Linked DNA regions of Homo sapiens: regions 1, 3 and 4 are each linked to region 2. Evidence: promoter capture Hi-C in 16 types of primary human blood cells and fetal thymus (Javierre and others, 2016). All regions are on one chromosome and are shown on one strand. Each heading gives the region's core, a stretch centred on a gene start or on the middle of the fragment in contact. The rest is flanking DNA. Distances are from core to core; before and after follow the strand shown.

Region 1 (2,700 bases), core at 81-2,580, 490 kb after region 2:
GAAAAATGGATTTACAATTGTTATTATTAGCGACGAACCTCACAAAAACTGTAAAGTGTACCTGGGAAGATGTTAGCTAGTGGTAACATGAAGCCATCAGGACAAGCAAGATATTTGTAAATGAGTATCCAGGATCTGAAAATGATTTTTTATAATTTTTACAGTTGTGTTCAAAGTTATGATAGTTAAGAAGACTCTATTTACTAAGCTTAATGAAAAAAGTCAGAAGCCTCTCTTGAGGTTTCTTACATTACGGCAAAAGAGGAAAAGCCTGATATTATTGGTGAAACACTTGTTCTTCCTGCTTCCTGTTGTGGTAAAATATTGCTAAAATAATACATGAAAAACCACATGACAACAAATTAAAATGTGTTCCTTTGTAAACAAATACTGCTGAAAACTGTACAGAAAGAATCAATGAAAATGTGATGAAGTAAGTACTAAGCAATTATACTGTTGAATGGAAGTAAAGGTGTTTCTAATATATCACAGCGTATGGTTGTTTTCTAGAAAGTAATAGCCAAAATTTACTGGGAACTCACTATGTGTCAGACAAGATTCTAAGCACTTTACATGAATTACTTTACTTATTCTTTTTAACAATCTCTGAGGTAAGTATTACTATTATTCCCATTTTATTTTTGCAGATGAAGAAACCAAGACACGGAGAGGTTAAGTCATGTGCTGAAGGCCACACTGTCAATAGTATTGGAGCCAATAAAGAGTCAACATGAGTACTCCGTCTCCAATGCCAGTAATCTTAGCCACTATCATAATTACCTCAACAATGAAATGCTCAGAGAACTGTAATTCTTTTCTATGAGAGAGTAAGGGAAAAATGCAACAGAAAAGAAATTTTCTCAGTGAAAGTTCTCAGAAGTCAGAAATGACTTTTTTATATATCAGAAAATGTTCTATGAAAAAAATGGTATAAGTGTATTCAGCAGTGGTACACCCACTGCATTTACTAGGACATCAACCAAAAAGCATTCTTGGTGAGATCACAGAGAACACCACAGCCTTCACAGCAAGACGTGTGGCAAAGAAGTTGAAACTGGAATTGCATCAAGCATTATGGAACATCATTGATGTAGTTATTCCTATAAAACAAGACTAGTCTCTTTATAATACTTTGTACTGGATGGGGAGTAATCATAAAAATCTTTGTCTTACATACTTCCCACAAAGTATCTTGAAGCAAAGCACTTAATAGAACAGTCAAATGTCACATGTCACAAAACGTCAAATGTCACAAGCAGGAGGATTGCTTGAGGCCAGAGTTTGTGACCAGCCTAGGCAACATAGGAGACCCTATCTCTACAAATAACTTAAAAACTTAGCTGGGCATGGTGGTATGTGACTGTAGTCTTGGCTTTTCGGAAGGCTGAGGCGGGAGGATCTCTTGAGCCCAGGAGTTCAAGGCTGCAGTGAGCTAGGATTGTGCTACTGCACTCCAGCCTGGGCAACAGAGTGAGACACTGTCTTTTTTTTTTTTTTTTTTTTCCGAGACGGAGTCTCTCTCTGTCGCCCAAGCTGGAGTGCAGTGGCGCGATCTCGTCTCACTGCAAGCTCCACCTCTCGGGTTCACGCCATTCTCCTGCCTCAGCCTCCCGAGTAGCTGGGACTACAGGCGCCCGCCACCACACCCGGCTAATTTTTTTTTGTATTTTTAGTAGAGACGGGGTTTCACCGAGTTAGCCAGGATGGTCTCGATCTCCTGACCTCGTGGTCCGCCTGCCTCGGACTCCCAAAGTGCTGGGATTACTGGCGTGAGCCACTGCACTCGGCCGTGACACCGTCTTTAAAAGAAGAAAAAGAAAAGGACAAGTGTTTAACAATTTTTGGCTTTTTAAAAATTTTTGTGATTACAGATAGATGTCAGTAGTATGCTACCCAAAAAGTAACTAAAACAACAAAACTTTATCCAAGTTATAGGTGATGTTTTAACAAGTGAGAAAGTGACCACTAATTATAAGAAATTTGTGTAGGAAGAGAGCAGTTTGAAGATAGATGTTGGAGATGTTTCCATTGTTATGTGATTTTATTGTTGAATCAATGCCAATATGTCACCTGTTAAAAATTCTTGTGTCTGCGCTTTTAAAACATTTACAAACAGCTTTCTAAGCTATTTTAAAAAAATCTTCCAAATACAGAGTTTTTGTCTTTTTAAATCCACTTGTTAAAAACGTAAAATGCAATACCTTCTGGTTAGTTTTCATTTACTGTTTAAAATCTAGAAAGATAGAAATTTGCTGGTCTAATTCAACAAAATTTGTGAATAATCGAGGGATGTAATTAAAAAGTAAATTTTGTGATTTTGTAAATACAGCCAATGATGCATTTATTTCATCTGATGTAGACATAATTGTGAAAAATTATTTTTGTTTAAAAAAGCTGTCAAAAACCAAATATCAAAACATGTTGATCTTTAAACTAGATTTTTTATCAAATTCAAGCTTTTCAGTAAATGCAAACTAATCAGAAGGTGTTATGTAATCTCAATTTTTAACATGCGGGGGGACTTTTGGGACTGTGGGGCATTCCTAACTGGAGATGTCCACCAAAGACATGTCCAGGCCGGGCGCAGTGGCTCATGCCTGTAATCCTAGCACTTTGAGAGGCCGAGGCAGGCGGATCACGAGGTCAGGAGATTGAGACCATCCTGGCTAACACAGTGAAACCCCGTCTCTACTAAAAACA
Region 2 (2,955 bases), core at 277-2,776:
TTAAGAGACAGGGTTCACTTTCATCCCATATACTTCTGATTAAAAGGAGCCTCTTATACCCAGGAGAATACATTCCAGGTGCAGAAAGCCAATTACCTAGTTATTCCCTTACCCACGTAATTATAGACCTTAATCCAAATTCAAAGGACTCCTGGGAGATGCTGGAATCTGTAATTGTGTAATCTCTTTGATGAAGCACAGAGTGTGATCTTTTGCTCATGTGGGGCTAGGTTTCTGTGGAGAAGCTGGAAATGCTGTGGAAAAGGGCTTGCCCCTTTTGTGTATATGAACTCTAATGTAGTTGAAATTCCTAGAAGTCAAAGATATAAATCTAACTACTAAAATTCATTTAGTGCATTAAAATGCCAGTTATTAATTTACGGCAACAACTAAAGGGAAGCTTTGTATTATTCTAGGACTACAATGCAATTTATGCTTTGCATAATCATTCAGTAAATGACTTATTGCTCCAGAAATACCATCTTGCTAGATCCCATTCTGAATTCAGTGTTTCTGAGCAATCTCATCTCCAATACAGAGTGATGACATACTCAGGATTCCAAGACGGCAAAATGACTTGGGTAATGTAGTCTAGGGCCTGCCAGTGAGTATGCTGAGACAGACCAGAAAGACTTAAAGATTCCACTAATGTAGACAAAGCAAGCTGAGCCACAACTTCTCGGAACACCAACAGGATGCACCAACAATCGACAAAAAAAAAAAAAAAAAAGGAGATAAAGTTTAAAGTTTGTCTTCCAGCATTCCCTTACCCTATTTTCCCCTTCCTCTTCCCTACTTTATCAGTGGGAAAAGTTCTCAATAATGCAATTCTTACTGAGATTCTTGTGTTTATCAGAGAAATGTTTCCTCTTTCTTTGCCAAGGAATTATATATTCCCAACAGACATGGCGCTTGAATGCTATATTTCCTTTGGAATCAAGAAAGGGGAGGTGGGGGAATCAAAAATTAAAAACCAAACCCAAGCCATTGTTCCTCTTCGAGGAAGGGTGGGTGGTCAGTCGTCGCCTGAGCTCCGAACATCAACCCGCGGCTCTCAAGTTCCCCTCCCAGTAATGCTGGGCCCAGCCTCGCCGCGGCCGATCCAGCCTCTGCCCTAGGTGGAAGCGGGCCACCCGGTCCCTTCACCCACTGAGGCCCAGTCCTTTCGCCTCAACACGAAGGCACCTGGCCGGGCCGGAGCAGCAGCCGCGGGGCCGGCACTGGGGCCACGGAACCCCGGGCCAGACTCAGGCCTGGGCCAGCTCGGCTCCGGCCTGCAGGGGGCGCTGCGGCGGCACCGGCGCGAGGCCCGCGCGTGCGGGGAGCGACCCCAGGTGTAAGTCCCGGGGCGTGGGGCGCGTGGGTCAAGGCGGAGCGACCCAGGATCCCCGCGCCCGCGGCGGCCGCCGAGTGGCAGCGCTGGACTCGCGGAGAAGCTTGGGTACCTGAGCCGCGGTCCCGGGTGACACCCTCAGTGACGCCAGGCGCGTTCCTTCCTCTTCCTCTCTCCTCTCCGGCCCCGCCTTCCCTTCCCTCCGCCCACCTCCCTGAAGCGGAGCCGCCGTCGCCACCAGCGCCGTCATGTCGGCCCCCGCCGGGTCCTCTCACCCGGCCGCCAGCGCCCGGATCCCGCCCAAGTTCGGCGGAGCGGCCGTCTCAGGAGCCGCAGCGCCCGCGGGCCCGGGTGCGGGCCCGGCGCCGCACCAGCAGAACGGTGAGGCGGGCGGCCCGGGCGGAGCGCGGGGCCTAGCACCGGCTGGGCGGCCTGCACGGCCACATCGGGGCGGGGCGGGCCGGGCCGGGAAGGGCGTTCGGGGCCAGGCCCGGCCCGAGGGACGGGAGCGGGCGCGGTGCGGAGGCCGCGGGGTCCGGGTTGGGTGCGGGTAGGGGGCAGGGAAGGCACGGCGCGGGGCGCGCGGGGGTGGGACGCCCCTGGCGTGGGGGCGGGGGCCGGCCTGGGAAAGCTGGGGCCGTGGCTGTTTATGTAATGCGACCCCAGGCCCGAAACGGCCTCGGGCGAGTAGGGGCGACTGAAAAGCTGGGAGCCCACGTAGTAAAACCCAGTTACCTAGCCTGGACGCGGGCGAGTTGCCCCGAGCGACCCCTTGGCTGCGAGAGCTGGCCAGAAGCCGAGGCCGCTGAGTGCGTGGTCCGGAGAAGGCTGGTGCAGCCACCCAGCAGGGTGGATTGTGCCCTTCCTGTCTCAGGAAAATTGCTTCGGTTCCCGAGGCCCAGCGAACACGCTGCCTTGAGGAAACTTAAGTTTGCACTCAAGTTTGTAGACAAAAGGGTGTAAATATGCTATATAAGTGTAACTGTAACCCTGACCCAGTTCGGCCTCAAGAACTGTCATTGCCGCTGCGGCTGCTGCTCAAGCTTTTGGAGTTTGCTTGTAGTGTTTGAAAGGGAGCAGATGTAAACGGATTTAAACGAACATCTTTAGATCTGGGTGTTTTTCCTAGCTCCACTTTCAGAGATGAAAAAACGTGCCAGAGTTGGCCCTGCTTTGAGGCAGGGCCTTCATACAGGCAGCAGCCAAATGCAGCACGAAAGCCGCTTTCATATTAAGGTCGTGGGCTTTTAGTAGGCTGCAAAATGATGGATATGCATTCCCTAATGCTGAGATTTGGAATGTTCGCGGATAGGGGCCAAGGGTGGAGGAATTCTCCTTACAGACTTCTTAGTATGTCAGATGAGAACCTTGGAAAGTAATTGACTGAATTTAGAAAAATACCTCTGTCCTGTGTTGGTACGAGAACCAAACTGCATTAGTACTCTCCAGATGATTGACCTGTTTTATCTAATTTCCTAATGAAAATCTGCTGGACTTTATGAATTAGTTTAATCAACATCTAAGTTTTACAACTGATGCTTTTCAAACATGAAGTGTATCGTTTGTCCTGAGGATCAGAAGTTGAGTGATACTTTAGCCTTAATATTCTTTGGATCAGCCTT
Region 3 (2,700 bases), core at 38-2,537, 360 kb after region 2:
ATTGTTATTTGCACATAATATCTTTTCTATCCTTTATTTCTTTGGACCTAAAGGCAGCCTCTTTAGACAGCATATAGTTGGATAATAATTTTAAAAAACTGATTCTGCCAATCTCTGCCTTTTGATATTAGAATTTAATCCACTTCCATTTAAAGTAATTGCTGATAAGAAAGGACTTACTCTTCTATTTGCTATTTGTTTATTGTATGTCTTATACCTTTTTTGTTTCTCATTTTCTCCATTACTGCCCTTTTTGTGTTTAGTTGATTTTTTCATATTCAACTATTTCAGTTCTCTCTTTATTTCCTTCTGTGTATATTTTTTAGATATTTTCTTTTTCGGTACTATGGAGATTACAATTAATAGTGATTAAATTTATAGTAATCTAGTTTGAATTGATAACTTGGCTTTGAGAGCATACAAAACTCTGTTCCTATACTGCTCCATCCATTCCTTTATGTTGTTATTGTCATGTTACATCTTTATACATTGTGCACTGTTAACACAGAATTAGAATCGTTTTATATAGTTGTCTTTTAACTCATGTGGGAAAGGAAAAGAAGAGATACAAAACCAAAATAATATAATACTGGCTTTTATATTTACCTATGTAGTTACCTTTACTGGAGTTCTTTATTTCTTCATATTACTTCAAGTAACTGCCAAATGTCCTTTCACTGCAGTATGCAGGGTTCTCTGACTTGCACTGTATTTCTTTATTTTAATTTAATTTTATTTTAGAGATGATCTCACTCTGTTGCCCAGGTTTGAATGAAGTGGTGTAGTCAGAGCTCACTGCAGTTTTGAACTCCTGAGCTCAAGTGATTCTCCCACCTCAGCCTCCCGAGTAGCTGAGACTACAGATACATGCCACTACACCTAGCTAATTTTATTTTTTAGAGAGATGGGCTCCTGCTGTGTTTTCCAGGATAGTCTTGAACTCCTGGGCTTAAGCAGTCCTCCTGCCTCATTCCCCTAAAGTGCTGGGATTATAGGCAATGAGCCACCACACCCAGCTACTTGTAGTGCATTTCCTGTAGGACAGGTCTATTAGTAGCTAACTCCTTCAGCCTCTATTTATCTGTGAATTTCTTCATTTCTCCTTCATTTGTGAAGGATAGTTTTGCCAGATACAGAATTCTTGGTTGACAGTTTTTTACTTTCAACAAATAAAATTTTCATCTGCCCTCCATGGTTTCTGATGAGAAAGCTGCTGCTAATCTTACGGAATCTCATGACTATGTTGTTTTCAAGACTTTCTTCATCCTTGGTTTTGACAATTTGATTATAATGTGTCTTGGTTTGAACCTTTTTGTGTTTATCCTTCTTGGATTGCATTGAGCTTTTTGAATGTGGACAGCCATGCATTTGATCAAATGTGGAAATTTTTCAGCCATTATTTCTTCATATATTCTCTCTTACTTTCTTATTTTCTCCTTCTGGGGTTCCATTATATATATTTTGGTATGCTTTATGGTGTCACACGAGTCTCATAGGCTCTGTTCATTCCTTGTCATCCTTTTTTCTTTCTGCTTCTCATACTGGATAATTAATTAAATGGACTGATCTTCAAGTTTGTTGACTATTTCTTCTGCCTGCTCAAATCTTCTACTGAAACCTATTAGAAAATTTTTCATGTTTGTTATTGTGCTTTTCAACTCCAGAAGTTTTGTCTAGTTCCTTTTTAAAATTTCTATTTGTTGGCCAGTCACGGTGGCTCATACCTGTAATCCCAGCACTTTGGGAGGGTGAGGTGGGTGGATCACTTGAGGTTCAGGAGTTCAAAACCAGCCTGGCCAACATGGTGAAACCCCATCTTTACTAAAAATACAAAAATTAGCTGGGTGTGGTGGTGGGCACCTGTAATTCCAGCTATTCAGGGGGCTAAGGCATGAGAATTGCTTGAACCTGGGAGGCAGAGGTTGCAGTGAGCCAAGATTGTGCCACTGCACTCCAGCTTGGGTGACAGAGCAAGACTCTGTCTCCAAAACAATTCTATTTATTTATTAATATTCTATATTTGTTTATACATTATTATCAGGGTTTCCTGTAGCTCTGAGCACATTTAAGACAGTTGAAGCGTGTGACATTGGCAAGATGGTGGAACAAAATGTCCCAGCACTTGTCTTCCCACAGAAACACCAATGTAACAACCATCTACAAATAAAAATACCTTTATGAGAGCTCCAGGATCAAGGTGAGAGGTTACAGCATGCAAGTGGAACAAATATATGAGAAAAAATTGAAAGGATAAGAAAATAAATTTCACTTTATAGAGTTACCCTTTACCCTACACAGCATACACGATGCTGAAAGAGATTCCTTTGGATCATGAGCTCTCTTGTGGGGGAAAAAGAGAGCAACCCTGCTCCTGGGCACTGGCATCAAGACTGTCTACCCACACAGTGACGGTGGCACCAGGCCTGCCCGTGGACCACAGCACCGAGCCCACTGGTAGACCCAGGCACCAGGCCCACCCACACATGGTCTCAAGCAACAAGCCGTTCACACGGGCCTTGCCAGCTGACCCACCCAGAATCTCTGGCTGACTGATTTGTGAAAGACTTTTTCTGCCAAAGTCAGTCTGTGAAGACTGAAAGAGGTGGCTGCTTCTTCAAACATCCAGACATTAATACAGGTTACAAGGATTATGAAGAAAAAAGACACTATCCAAGGAGCACATAAAGCTCCAATAAGTGA
Region 4 (2,700 bases), core at 115-2,614, 320 kb after region 2:
CATTTTAGGTGACAAGTAATCAAAACTAGGTATGGCAACATGACTCTTGAGCCACACAGTAAAGAAAATATAGGTAGGCCACAGTGGAGAACAAAATGTAAGTAGTACCTACCCACTCTCCCACTTTGCAAATAAGCCAGGTGAAGTAATTTGGCAGCTATGGGTTTGATCTGCCTTTGCCAGTGAGATCAGCAATTTTGGTCTGTGGAGGACACAGTAGATTCTACGGGATTAGCCTCTGGAATTCCAGTCGCGAATACCAGAGGATACTTTGCAATTAATATAGTGGAGTTTGTCAGTACCTTTTTCAGATATGCTTTATCATCTGCCACAATCTCTATTACTCACTTTCATTGTTTCGGGAAATCTAAAATTTACTGAAGACATCTTTTACCTGAGACAATGTGCAGCAGTCAGAATCCAACAGCCACCAATATAAATTCCCCCACAGGTGATTCCACTGGCATCCTTAATTGCCACCTGCCATGGGAGGTCTCCCTGTAAAAGACATTTGTGTGGTCACTGCCATTCTAACAGATAGCGATACAAACAGCCCTAAGATATTTCCATGGCAAGACTCCCAGTCTCTTATAATTACATCATCCTCCTGCCCCTTTCCCCCCAAATTTAGGCTGTTTCTGGGCAGTTGCATTGTGACTTTTCATGCGACTTTACCAGTTGTGCTCGCTTTCCTCCCACAATTCGTTTCCTTCGAATGTGCATTCTGTTTTTAACTCCACAAGATAGTTTAGGTAATAATGATTTTATCCGTCTTCTTTCTTCAAGAAAGGAAGAGATTACATCATTATTATCTTGAACCCATTAGCGTTTTTAACACACTTCTTGATTATCTATGCCACAAAAACAGGAGAGTCACAGCCAGTACAAGACAGGCTGGAATCATTAGTAAATTATTTTGAATGCTAAACCATACTATTCATCTTATTTAAAAATTCTGGCTTGATATTAAAATTGGCTTGATTCTCTGAAGTTCTGCCTAAAGATAGACTAGTGGCAGAAAAGGGCTGGCCAAGAGGTTAAACATTTACCAGCCTCTAGCTGATAAAGGATGCCACATGTCCAGGCACTGTGGCAGTGGCAGCTCAGAAGGGAATCACATTCTGAAATCATCAGGGTAAACTAACAACATGGCAAACTGTGTCTTTTCTTTTCTTTCTTTCTTTTTTTTTTGAGATGGAGTCTCAGTCTTGTGCCCAGGCTGGAGTGCAATGGCACGATCTCAGCTCACTGCAACCTCCGCCTCCCGGGTTCAAGGGATTCTCCTGCCTCAGCCTCCCAAGTAGCTGGGATTACAGGCGCCCACCCCCACGCCCAGCTAATTTTTGTTTTTTTAGTAGAGATGGGGTTTCACCATGTTGGCCAGGCTGGTCTCGAACTCCTGACCTAATGTGATCTGCCCACCTCAGCCTCCCAAAGTGCTGAGATTACAGGGTGAACCACCACGCCCAGCCATAGTTTTTATTTTCTAGAGGCTGTTTATATGGAACTCTTATATTAATATCAATGTTAACATAGTGATACTCTTATTAAGTACTTTCTATATGTCAGGCCCCATACTGAGTCTTTGTATATAGTTTATCTCATTTAATCATCCTATTAACCCTGAGAGATGATGTGCCAGTGACCCCGGGACAAGTGGGTTAGCGGGCTGGGGAGTGTTTTTTAGCCATTTGACATGTGACAATGTTTCCTTCCTCTGTCTGTGAGCATGCAGACGTCTGGCGCATTTGTCATGAGAAAACACGGTAGAGCAAAGTTTATGACCTGAATTTTCCAAAGAATTTATGATGACTGAAGAAAGTAAAATATATCCCTTTATTTCCTCTCTATATTTTAACATGTCATGAAAATTTTTGTAAACTTGCTTCTTAGCCCCAGATGAGAAAGGAAAATGAATATTGCTGTTAATAATTTTGGGCATACCGAAAGGAGTTAGGCCCCCAAGAAAGAGCCGTTGTTGTATGGAGGCTAAAGCAACTTCATCTTGGATACTAATCTGCCATGTTAGCTTCTGATTAACCCCAATTCCGGGAAGGCCTCTGAGATTTCCAGTTTATCTATTATTCCTTGTATAAGAGCATGTACTTACTATAAATCCTGGCCTTATGGCAAATTCCTACCCATTAGCTCTGAAGCCTGTGTGCCCCTCCCCTACAGTATATAATCTCTGAGTCGGGAGAGAACTAGCACAAGGATCCACCATCTTGTCTCACTGTTGTCCAGGACACAGACCTGGCTTCCATTAGTAAGTCCCTATTAAATGTTTCTTTCTAAGGAACTGGACATGTCAGCCTCTTTGTTTGGCCTCTCAGCTTCCTTAGACTTTGGGGGCTGATTTGTGTGAACCTGCCCACTGTGAAACACATGGATAGAAGATGGTTTTTTTTGGTCTCACCCATCCTAAGAACTGGGGTGGGGGAAGAGTGTGATGGTAAGTTTTTGCTTACACTTTTGAAGGAAGAGGGATCTCATGCTCTGAGGACTGTGAAACCAACTTAGGTAGTATCTGAAAATGAATGTTATTCTGAGTAAAAATAAAGGGCCATTGTTGAAAATGCCTTTTGACTAACATCTATAGCTTCGAGAGCTAAATCTTTTTTTTTTTTTTTTTTTTTGAGATGGAGTCTCACTCTGTTGCCCAGGCTGGAGGGCAGTGGCACAATCTTGGTTCACTGCAAC

The links. Contacts are between HindIII fragments. The CHiCAGO score rates a contact against its expected background, and 5 or more counts as called.
Region 1: a contact is called between a fragment that was not itself captured here and the fragment with the promoter of SEC24B in region 2, in 1 of 17 cell types (megakaryocytes). The highest score is 6.7, in megakaryocytes.
Region 3: a contact is called between a fragment that was not itself captured here and the fragment with the promoter of SEC24B in region 2, in 5 of 17 cell types (total B cells, naive B cells, non-activated CD4 T cells and 2 more). The highest score is 7.5, in total B cells.
Region 4: a fragment that was not itself captured here is called in contact with the fragment with the promoter of SEC24B in region 2 in 3 of 17 cell types (fetal thymus, non-activated CD4 T cells and total B cells); the score reaches 7.9 in fetal thymus.

Annotation. Positions count from the first base shown.
Region 1 is chr4:109,924,868-109,927,567 of GRCh38, forward strand. The region is part of intron 1 of EGF (epidermal growth factor); the gene reads left to right. Among named protein-coding and RNA genes, the nearest start is that of EGF, 13 kb to the left of the region's middle. The HindIII fragment of the contact is 2,248 bases long and covers 207-2,454 here.
Region 2 is chr4:109,432,289-109,435,243 of GRCh38, forward strand. SEC24B (SEC24 homolog B, COPII component) reads left to right here and starts at 1,527. Exons shown (of 24, transcript NM_006323.5): 1 at 1,527-1,714. The coding sequence starts at 1,582. It overlaps SEC24B-AS1 (SEC24B antisense RNA 1), which reads right to left and starts at 1,529. Exons shown (of 3, transcript NR_039978.1): 1 at 1,446-1,529. RefSeq lists silencers at 1,157-1,546, 1,597-1,866, 2,245-2,539 and enhancers at 1,421-2,280, 2,357-2,506. The HindIII fragment of the contact is 940 bases long and covers 1,435-2,374 here.
Region 3 is chr4:109,792,808-109,795,507 of GRCh38, forward strand. The region is part of intron 1 of CFI (complement factor I); the gene reads right to left. Among named protein-coding and RNA genes, the nearest start is that of CFI, 7.8 kb to the right of the region's middle. The HindIII fragment of the contact is 3,666 bases long and covers 1-2,700 here.
Region 4 is chr4:109,748,824-109,751,523 of GRCh38, forward strand. CFI (complement factor I) reads right to left here. Exons shown (of 13, transcript NM_000204.5): 9 at 676-779; 10 at 395-498. Among named protein-coding and RNA genes, the nearest start is that of PLA2G12A, 20 kb to the left of the region's middle. The HindIII fragment of the contact is 4,038 bases long and covers 1-2,700 here.